Regions from separate parts of the Homo sapiens genome. Here regions 1 and 2 are each linked to region 3. Evidence: promoter capture Hi-C in 16 types of primary human blood cells and fetal thymus (Javierre and others, 2016). All regions are on one chromosome and are shown on one strand. The core of a region is centred on a gene start or on the middle of the fragment in contact, and the rest is flanking DNA. Distances in the headings are between cores, read along the strand shown. Region 1 has its middle 2.9 kb from the start of DTNBP1. Region 2 holds the start of SMIM13 (small integral membrane protein 13). Region 3 holds the start of TBC1D7 (TBC1 domain family member 7).

The links. Contacts are between HindIII fragments. The CHiCAGO score rates a contact against its expected background, and 5 or more counts as called.
Region 1: a fragment that was not itself captured here is called in contact with the fragment with the promoter of TBC1D7 in region 3 in 2 of 17 cell types (total B cells and naive CD8 T cells); the score reaches 5.3 in total B cells.
Region 2: a contact is called between the fragment with the promoter of SMIM13 here and the fragment with the promoter of TBC1D7 in region 3, in 1 of 17 cell types (fetal thymus). The highest score is 6.4, in fetal thymus.

Annotation. Positions count from the first base shown.
Region 1 is chr6:15,664,081-15,667,679 of GRCh38, forward strand. No RefSeq gene overlaps it. Among named protein-coding and RNA genes, the nearest start is that of DTNBP1, 2.9 kb to the left of the region's middle. The HindIII fragment of the contact is 657 bases long and covers 923-1,579 here.
Region 2 is chr6:11,092,083-11,095,624 of GRCh38, forward strand. It overlaps SMIM13 (small integral membrane protein 13), which reads left to right and starts at 1,752. Exons shown (of 2, transcript NM_001135575.2): 1 at 1,752-2,307. The coding sequence starts at 2,232. RefSeq lists enhancers at 1,359-1,899, 1,442-1,651, 1,900-2,441, 2,322-2,441 and a silencer at 1,912-2,221. The HindIII fragment of the contact is 2,504 bases long and covers 1,115-3,542 here.
Region 3 is chr6:13,326,705-13,330,210 of GRCh38, forward strand. It overlaps TBC1D7 (TBC1 domain family member 7), which reads right to left and starts at 1,833. Exons shown (of 8, transcript NM_016495.6): 1 at 1,592-1,833; 2 at 83-202. The coding sequence starts at 194. TBC1D7-LOC100130357 (TBC1D7-LOC100130357 readthrough) reads right to left here and starts at 1,833. Exons shown (of 9, transcript NM_001318809.2): 1 at 1,752-1,833; 2 at 83-202. The coding sequence starts at 194. LOC124901261 (a long non-coding RNA gene) reads left to right here and starts at 1,911. Exons shown (of 2, transcript XR_007059457.1): 1 at 1,911-2,194; 2 at 3,021-3,153. RefSeq lists a silencer at 1,649-2,038 and an enhancer at 1,672-2,178. The HindIII fragment of the contact is 4,199 bases long and covers 1-2,697 here.

The sequences.
Region 1 (3,599 bases), core at 1-2,500, 2.3 Mb after region 3:
CATTCCCCATATTAACCCATCAAATCCAATCAACTCTACTCCTGAAGTATTTCTGGAACCTCCTTCTCTTTCTATATCTTCACTATATTTATCCTGGTCGAAGGCACCATCCTCTTTCAATGGGAACACAGACAGTTCTTCCAGATTCTACTCTTTTGCCATACACACCCCTATAATCCATCCTTGACACAGCAGCCAGAAAGAGTTATTTAAAAGATCAATCGGATCACGTTGCTCCCCTGCTTAAAATCTTCCAATTGCCTCCTGGGCACTTGGAATAAAATTCAAACTACTTACCCCCTTAAAAAGCCCTAAAATTTGAATGTTTTCTAGCACTGTATCCAAATTGATTACTAGTCACCTATCATGTCCTTGACAATTAAGACATAATAGCCTTTTTTTTTTTTTTTTTTTTGGTGTGTTCTTAGAAAATTCCAGGTTTATTTCCACCTGTGGTGTTTTCACAAACTTTTCTCCAAACTGTCCCTTGTCTGGCTCCTTATAACATAAGGGTCACATCCTAAATAGCATCACATTAGATAGGTTTTACTTACCATTCAAGTTACACACCCAATCACTTCCTATCACGTAGCCTGTTTCTCAACTTAGTACACATTAGAAAATTTATTCAATAATTATTTGCTATTTATTAATTTAGTTGTTTACAAACATATTTTAAAACCACGACAAATAAGGCATTCACCTCAGGTACAAAATTTACGGGAGCCAAAAAGCTCAGTAATCAAGATAAGTAATATTTTAATACAATATTTAAAAAATTCAAAATTAATGAAAAAAAATCTGTGATGAACAAAATATCAAAATTTTAAATACACAGGATCTGTTAGGGCTGGGATTGGATGAGGCCAGTGAGGTAAGTAGCACAAGTACAGGCCCAGATGTAAACTGCTCTGTCTTATTAAGCTTTGCATCCCCAGCAATGAAAACAGTGAATGGCACATAACAGACACCCAGTAAATGTCTTGTTGCAGGAGTTAAATAAGATAAAGGACTTAGCTTGTAGCTGGGGGACCACCTCTTCCCCACTCTTGATGTTTTCTTCCATGGGAAGGGAGCTCTTCTGCTAACATAAAGAAGTACCCAGCCTCTCCTGGTGGGGAAGAGGTGACTACGATGATTAGTGAGCTAGAAGTAAGGAGCTTGGTCTCATCTTCTTTTCTTTTTGTTGAGTGAACACTTCCAACAAAGAGCATTCATTCTGCTGCCTAAAGACAGGCTTGAAGGGCAACCCAGTGCTTTTTGTGACTGGGTACTAGAAGTTCTGCTTGCCCATGAATATAAGCCATGTGTTCCATCAGTCTTCCTAGATATAAAAGTGATATTTTGGCCTCTTTATGCTGACACTATTGTTTTATTTCTCAGTTTGCTCAGACAAGTAAGAAAGAGGAGTGCTGTTTATTGAGCCTTCTTCTACCTCTCAGAAACAGTGCCTGGAACAAAGCAAGTGATCAAATGATCAAATCTACAGACAGGTCCCTTAGTATCTAGTAGATTTGAAAACCACAAGTACTGGGAAATATTAAATTTTTTTCTTTTATTCAATTAAACTCTACACATAAGCTTTCAATTTACTAAGTTTCATACATTCCAACAAAGCACCAAATCCACTCAAAAAAGACTCTTGCCTGTCACTAAAAAATAGCTTTACTGGTTGTGCCTGATCATTTCTGTCTTGACCAATGCACTGTTTATTAGTCTATGGCATGTTTGTATTTGAGGTGCTTTCTGAACATTCTTAATTCCATCATATCTATTAAATTAAAAAACAGTGAAAGTTTTAAAAGTGCTAATAAAAAGATAATTTATGATTTAAAGAAGTAAATATTAAAAAAATTAGAAAATAACTACTGTTGTACATGAGTTGCTCAGGAGGAATGATTAAGGACCAAGAGTTGAAGCATGTGACATGTCGTGTTTACATAAGTAACAGTAATCAGCCAGAAACTAGGAAGATGGATTGGCAAAATGAAAAAAAAAACAAAGCTTTTAAGTACAGTTTGAGAACCAACATCAGTATGGAAGCTATTGACCTAATCTTAATTCAGGAATTGGTTGAGAGTTGATTGTTGTTTGTTTGGGGTTTTTTTGTTTGTTTTGTTTTAAGACGGAGTCTCCCTCTGTCACCTAGGCTGGAGTGCAGTGGTGCAATCTTGGCTCACTGTAGCCTCCACCTCCTGGGTTCAAGTGATTCTCCTGCCTCAGCCTCCTGGGTAGCTGGGATTACAGGCTTCCGCCACCACGCCCAGCTAATTTTTGTATTTTTAGTAGAGACAAGGTTTCACTATGTTGGACAGGCTGGTCTCAAACTCCTGACCTCAAGTGATCCGCCTGCCTTGGCCTCCCAAAATGCTGGGATTACAGGCATGAGCCACCGCGCCCAGCAGAGAGTTGATTTTTTGAGAGCATATTAGTTGCGCCCAGGAAAAGCTTTGGTGATACAACGTTTGGGGTGAGCACCAAAGCTGCTAAGAAGTTTCCTGAAATAGTGCTTCCCTGACCAGCAGCAGCCGCATCATCTGGGAGCTTCCTGCAAAGGTAGAATCGTAGGCCCCAGCCAGCCCTACTGAATCAGAATCTGAGTTTTATTAAGACCCCCCGGGTGATTTTTATTCATGTTAACATTTGAGAAGCCCTACTCGTTGATGAAAGGGGGTTTCCTGTCTCAGCAGATTCTTATTGGAGACAAAGTGATAAATGAGGATTTGGCGGAGTTAGAACCAAAGAGAAAGATGCTATTAAAGAAGGGGTGGTACGAAAGAAACCACCATCAGAGCGAACAGGCAACCTACAGAATGGGAGAAAATTTTTGCAATCTACTCATCGGACAAAGGGCTAATATCCAGAATCTACAATGAACTCAAACAAATTTACAAGAAAAAAACAACCCCATCAACAAGTGGGCAAAGGATGTGAACAGACACTTCTCAAAAGAAGACATTTATGCAGCCAAAAGACACATGAAAAAATGCTCATCATCGCTGACCATCAGAGAAATGCAAATCAAAACCACAATGAGATACCATCTCACACCAGTTAGAATGGCGATCACTAAAAAGTCAGGAAACAACAGGTGCTGGAGAGAATGTGGAGAAATAGGAACACTTTTACACTGTTGGTGGGACTGTAAACTAGTTCAACCATTGTGGAAGTCAGTGTGGCGATTCCTCAGGGATCTAGAACTAGAAATACCATTTGACCCAGCCATCCCATTACTGGGTATATACCCAAAGGACTGTAAATCATGCTGCTATAAAGACACATGAACACATATGTTTATTGTGGCACTATTCGCAATAGCAAAGACTTGGAACCAACCCAAATGTCCAACAATGATAGACTGGATTAAGAAAACGTGGCACATATACACCATGGAATACTATGCAGTGAAAAAAATGATGAGTTCATGTCCTTTGTAGGGACATGGATGAAGCTGGAAACCATTATTCTCGGCAAACTATCGCAAGGACAAAAAACCAAACACCGCATGTTCTCACTCATTGGTGGGAATTGAACAGTGAGAACACATGGACACAGGAAGGGGAACATCATACACTGGGGCCTGTTGTGGGGTGGAGGGA
Region 2 (3,542 bases), core at 502-3,001, 2.2 Mb before region 3:
ACACTGTCTTGCTATTAATAGCAGTTCCTGAGATTTCTCTATTTATGCTTATTGTCTGTTTTTTTCCAACTGTCATATAAGCATCTTGAGTAAAGGCACTTTGTCTTATTCACTGCTGTATCCCCAGCACTTAGAACAGTGCCTGGCCCCTATAGGTATTCCAATATATGTGAATCAAAGAGAAAAAGGTCCTTTAAAATAAATTATTTTAGTTCTTCCGATGGCTGTTTTCTTTTCTTTTCTTTTTTTTTTTTTTTTTGATAAGAGTCTCTCTGTTGCCCAAGCTGGAGTGCAGTGGTGTGATCTCGGCACACTGCAACCTTGGCCTCCTGGGTTCAAGCGATTCTCCTGCCTCAGCCTCCTGAGTAGCTGGAATTACAGGCGCCCACCACTACCCCCGGCTAATTTTTGTATTTTTAGTAGAGACAGGGTTTCACCATGTTGGCCAGGCTGGTCTCGAACTCCTGACTTCAGGTGATCTGCTCGCCTTAGCCTCCCAAAGTGCTGGGATTACAGGCGTGAGCCACCTCGCCTAGCCCTGACGCGTATTTTCAACTGGCTTTTAATAAAATGTGTTTTAATTATGCAACATAATTGAACCACCCATGAAAAAAGCACACACTGATTTTTTGTAAATATATCTTAATTGCACTGGGTTCATTCTCTTCACAGGAATCTATATTAAATCTGTTGCAAAGCAAGTAATTATCCTTTAATGTATTTTTATACATGGTATTTGTTCCTAATGTTGCTTCTTAGGGAATACAGTTCACATAGTAGGGCAGCTGGGTATGGCAGGATACATTTATTAAATCAAGGGATTGCTGCTTAGAACTTTTGTGTTTGTTTTTGGAGACAGAAGACAGGAAACTGTAATTTTTAGAAGAGTAAAAAGGTATCTCAGGGAGCAAAAGAATCACAGGAAAACTCGAAGGCTCTGATTCCTTCTAAAAGAGGGACACATTTACCCTCTATTCTTCTGGGGGCACCTCTTTAACAAATGAATGTAATCTGGCGGAAGTGGGGAGTTTCAATTTTGGGTGGAGATACAGTAGTTGAGATTACTACAGTGTCTTGTTTCGTAGAGGTGTAAGCCAGTGCGGCAAAATCTCCAAGCTTGGTCTCAAGGAGGCAGCTGGGTCTAACTTACAACTCAGGCAGGTGATTTGAGGGCAGTGCAGCTGTCCTTAAGTCACCCGCGGGCCATTTCTGAAATGCTTTACTTACGAAAAGATAGAACATAACATCTGTTGCAGGGGGAAAATGAGATTTCGTGTCCTGACCCGCGTCTGCGGCAGGGACCTGAGTTCTTCCTCCAAGTCCCAAATAGCCAACCTTCGCCCCCGGCAACAGGGCTAGGTGCACGAGCAACCAGTTTTTCAGGCAGCCGCCTCCTCTTTCCTCTCTCGCCGTACTTCATCGATTACGGCTAGAAACAAAACGACTTTGTATACGGAGTAATGGTTGAAATCTCACTGGCGCCTCAGCAGGACGGGCAGCCAGATCCGCGGCTTTGGAGAAGGCCAGCCCACGGTCGTCCGACTGAGGCGACTTGAGCAAGACCAAAGGCAGAGCCGCCCGAGAATGAAAGCAGCGAAGCCCGAGTGGCGGTGCATTCTGGGAGTTGTAGTCCCTGCGAGACAACGCCGTCCCGACTCCACCAGGCTCTGCACTCCATCTCCCAGCCGACCCCGCGCCGCGGAGGAGGCGAGCTTGGTGATGAGCTGCCCCAGCGGTAGGGGGCCTGGGGCGGAGAAGCCGCTACAGCCGCGGCCGGGCGACGCTGACATCTGGCATCCCTGGGGTCTCAGAGACACGGGTGGACAGCGACGAGGGCCTTGTGGCCGCCGTGTGTACCCGTGCTTACCCTCTGTCCTCCCTACAGGCGCGCGGCGTCCGCCATGGAAGCGCATCCGACCGCTGGGGTCTCTGGGTGCCGCGGCCTCGGCTCTCCGGGGCGATGAGGGACTAGAGGCGCCCTGAGGCCCGCCTGCCTCCCGCGCTCTGGCCACCCCGGCGGGAAAAGGATCGGGCGGGCGGGCGGTCCCACAGTGCCCGCCTTTGCGCCGCCCCACCCCCTGGGGGCGCTGCCGAGGGGGCGCCAGCCGCCCATGCCGCCCCGGCGCCCAGCCGCGCCTGGCGCCCGCCGCTGAAGCGCAGGACGCGCCGCCGCCCGCGCTCACCGCCGTCCGCGCCAGCCGCCCCGAGCCGACTGCCCTTCTGCCCCCAAGATGTGGCACAGCGTCGGGCTGACTCTGCTTGTGTTCGTGGCCACGCTGCTGATCGTCCTGCTGCTGATGGTGTGCGGTGAGTGGGGGCGGTAGCCGCGAGGCAGTTCCACACGCCGGGTCGCTGATCTGCTGGGGTTTTTTTTGTTGTTTGTTTTTTTGAAAAAAACAAAAGGGCGTGGACGGACAATTGTCTTAAAATCAACTGTTGTCCCTTAGCCTCTAGGGCTGAGCGCAGAGGTGGGCCCTTTACTCATGGCCGGCCCTCGGGCATCCTGGGGAGGGAAAGGACAGGCTCCAGGGCTTCCTGCCTCTGAGTGAAACTCAGCCTTGCTTCACCGGCAGCGTCTGCTCTTTCATTCTCACCACAGGCTGCCCAGATTGTAACCTTGGCCTGCATTCGAAGGTGAAGTGATTGATTGGTCCTTTTTCATTTGCACAGATTCTGACCTTAATAATGAGAGGTGTCACCTTCGTTTCATCAGCGAGTGGGGTAGAGTTGGGTTTTCAGCACGCGTGAAATTGTTTACTTAGAGTTCAGCCTTAAACTCAATTCCAAGCAGAGATGTGGAGACCAGGCAGAGCTTAGAAACACCGGCTATATTAAACTTGCAGGGTCGGGTAACCTAACTCTCAGTTCTATAATAATGGTGCTATTTCGAATGCTGTGCGTATTTTCCTTCTTGGAATGAGAGGACGTTCAACTTTTTTCTTCAAATAATGGTAGCCCAATTTTAGATCTTTTTGATTTCTTTGTACATGTATAGTAGCTGATAACCACAGGTCTCTTAGCAAAGTGGCTAAGCAATTGTGAAAATCTAAAAAGTACGTAGAACACGTGTCAGTGAGTTTACACATATTTATAAGACTGAAGTATGGGTTCAGGTTGATGTAATAATGGGTCAGAATTCATACAGATACTATAGGGCTTGTTCATTACACGATAAATGTACAAATTAATACTTAGTGACGCTGTGGAATATATGTGTGCACTTGTGCATATGCATGTGTATGTATTTATAAACTTATATGTTTATTTTATTTTTTGAGATGGAGTCTCGCTCTTGTTGCCCAGGCAGGAGTGCAATGCAGTGGCCTGATCTTGGCCCACTGCAACCTCTGCCTCCTGGGTTTAAGTGATTCTCCTGCCTCAGACTCTCGAGTAGCTGTAGCCGGGATTACAGGTGCCCGCCACCATGCCCAGCTAATTTTTGTATTTTTAGTAGAGATGGGGTTTAACCGTGTTGGTCAGGCTGGTCTTGAACTCCTGACCTCATGTGATCTACCCGCCTTGGCCTCCCAAAGTGCTGGGAT
Region 3 (3,506 bases), core at 583-3,082:
TGGATGTCTTTTAAGAAAATATTTACTTCAGAACATGTGGAGTGATTGAGAACCAATGAGATTAATTTTTAAAAGTACTCACCCAGACGGTCATCTTTTAGGAGAATTTCTAATGATTTCTTTTCTTCAACTCCACGAAACCCCACTTTCTCATAATATACTGAACGAAAGTTTCTCTGAGAGTCCTCAGTCATATTTCATTCTTGGAGGAGACACAGAAAGACAGAAAGGGAGAGAAAGACGAAGGGGAAAAGTGAGTCTAGAAACAAAGAGTCAAGAATTAGAATAATTTTCAATGATGTTCTCCACCTTTTCAATATGATGTACCCTTGCATAGGACCCAATATTAAATTTTTCCTTTAACTCAGTTCTGCAACTATCTCACCTATGCATCTTGGCTAAAAACCAAGATATAAGTTAAAAGTTCTCTGAGCTGATAAAATAGATGGCACAAGGTTTATGCACTAGGTTTCCCACTATACCTATGAGTGCCTAGCACAATAGAACATTCTGTAGCTATTATAAATGCGCAAAGAAAAAAAATAAGTGAAATGGAAGCCAGGCAAGATACGTCAAGCAAATTATACTCAAACAGTATACACTATGATTTCATTTTTTGTTTTTTACAAATTTCATGTATTTTAAAACTTAACACTCTATTCCAAAATGTTAGCAATGGTTATCTTTAGATAGTAGGATTCTAGATGATTTTAATTTCCTTTCTTTTGCTTAGCTACTTTTTTTTAAATGGGCATTTTGTAAAATGAAAAATTAAGTTATATAAAAGTAAAAAGCCACGAGTTCCTCACTTATCTTTCTTTTAAACACAATTCTATTAAGTGTAGCTATCGAAATTCAAAACCCACAACAAATAAATCGCATTAAATTATAACTAGAAGAGGGTAAAGAATGTAGCCAATTGACAGTGATCCCAAAGTCAGAGTTGAAGACGGAAAAACGATTTAAAATCTACCGCAAGAACTCAAAAAGTTCAGTGGTCTCAAGTTCCTTCACAGTAACCTTCATAATACTGGCGGTAATTCATCCAAAAAAAGACCAAGTTAGATTTGGCGTTTCAAGAACAGAAAAGATCTGATGCATTTCCCAAAAAGCACTGCACTGCCTCACCCAAATGCTTCCAGCGTCTGTGCACAAAAGAGTAAATCTTTAGGTTTAAAAACCCTGCGACGTCCCCAGTGAGCAGGGGAGGGCTTCCTTCCTTATTGAAAAGATATCCTCTGAACCGATTCAGTCACAGGAAAGATTAGGATTCGTTTAGAAAATGAAATGCTAAAGGGCTCTGAGCTTTCGGGAGCAGATGTCTTAAAAATAAAAAAGTCAGCAGCATAAAACGCGTAATGAGTGTGGGGATTTATTTTTTTAAAGCATCCAAACAGCTGCATGACGATTTGGTCGGTCCCTGTTGTCTAAGGACACCCATTCTTAGATTGCACTACAATGACAAAGGCGTCCTCTAGGAGGAAATGCTGCAAATAATATCTCCTGCCCATGCGCGTCCACCTGATGGGAAAAGTAAAAACACCCTGGTCCAAGACCCCAGGTCCCATTCTCTCTATGATGGATGCTTCACCTCTAGTAGTGCAAACACACCCGGGTTGAGACTAAGTGGTCCGGGAGAAGCAGAGGAAGCCGTGCCCTGTGCGCTGACCGACCGCCGGGCAGGCGGGCACCGTTGGGGCCCAGGGCCAGGAGGGACGAGTCCTGCGGGAAGGAGGGAGGCGGCGGGGTACCTGGGACACCCGCGCGCGCCCAGACGGCCCGGGAGACAAAACTCAGCGCCGCTGCCGCTGCCGCTGCCGCCGCCGCCGGACGTGACATCAACTCCAGGTCGCCGGGCGGGCGCCGGGCGGGCGCATGCGCAGAGGGCGCGGGCAGGAAGCTCCACCCTCACTCCAGGAAGCTCTGGCTTCGTTTGTGAAACCCGACGGGATGAAGGGCTAGGCTCGCCTCCAGAGTAGTGTAGTTTCTCCCGCCGTGGGCACCCGGCCCCTTGCTACCCCGCAAAATCTCGCGACCATTTACTCTGGCCATCCGAAGGCGCGTGCCTGGGTTGCACTCCCGTGTCCGGCCCTCGAGGTTCTTGCCTAGGGAAGACCCGAGCCCTAGGGCCGTACTTAAGCTGCCTGCGTGCAGGACCCGGGTTTTGCTTTTGCTAATTTCCTCCCCACCCCAGGTATGTGGGAATAGATGAAGACCATCCGAATGAGAAGAAAAAAGGCAGGCAGAGGAGTGCAAGTCTGATTTAGAGCAGGCAGGCTCCCTGGGTTGGTTATTGTAGGTAACTGACTGGTTTTCTGGGCAGGTTGCTGCAGGTTGTGGATTGGAGGTCTATTTTTATATTAGATTTGGCCATTGTCTTAGTATATTCAGCCTCTCAGGTAAAACACTATAACATAGGAGAAAAATGAACGTGTTTTTTTTTTAAAAAAAGATGTGCTAAATGCAAGCTCCTAATTTGTTATTAGTAGGTCTAACAGAACAGAGTTACTCTTTAAAGTAGCTACTAACACTTACAAATGCTTTCTATTTCTGTGCTTGCCTCCCTGGTCCTCGGGCTGGCTGAGCAGCAGTGCCCAAGTAGGTTTTTAAACCGCCAGGGTTTGAGAGAAATCCCCAATGATGGGTATCGTCCCTTTGAAAGTTCAAATCTCTACCAAATAAGCCACACGGATGCCAAGCTTTGAAGGAAACTTAGGACTATCAACAGTGCAGAAGTCCAGTTATAGTGCAGACAAATGTGTGTATAATGGCTAGACAGAACTTAAAAATGAAGAAACGTGTGGTGGTTGAACTCAAACACTGATGCCCCTCCCCACTCCCTTACCACCACCATCTTTAGTTCCTCAGTACTGGGGTACTAAACCTTCCTTGGGTAGTGTTCACATGAGTAAGCAGAGTTCTTCAAGTTACCTTACACAAGTTCCATTTACTTCATCTAAACCTTGGGCCGGTCACTAACTTTTATAATTGCCTTTTCTTGTCTTTAAAATCATCACCAGGGCTGGGCACTTACTGTGTGCAGGCGCTGTTCTATGGACTCAGGATACATCAGCTACCGAAGCAAAGATCCCTAACCTTGTGAAACTGACATTCTGGTGGGAGGACAGATCCAATAAAAACTAAAATAAATAAGTCAATGATGTAGTGTGTTAAAAAGTGATCGGTGCTGGCTGGGCGCCGTGGCTCATGCCTATGATCCCAACACTTTGGGAAGCCGAGGCAGGCGGATCACCTGAGGTCAGGAGTTCGAGACCAGCCTGGCCAACATGGTGAAACCCTGTCTCTAGTAAAAATACAAAATTAGCTGGGTGTGATGGCACACACCTGTAATCCCAGCTACTCTGGAGGCTGAGGCAGGAGAATCGCTTGAACCCGGAAGGCAGAGGTTGCAGTGAGCTGAGATGGTGCCGCCGCACTCCAGCCTGGGCAACGAGAGAAATTCCATTTCAAAAAATATTAATAATAAAATAAAATCATCACCAATG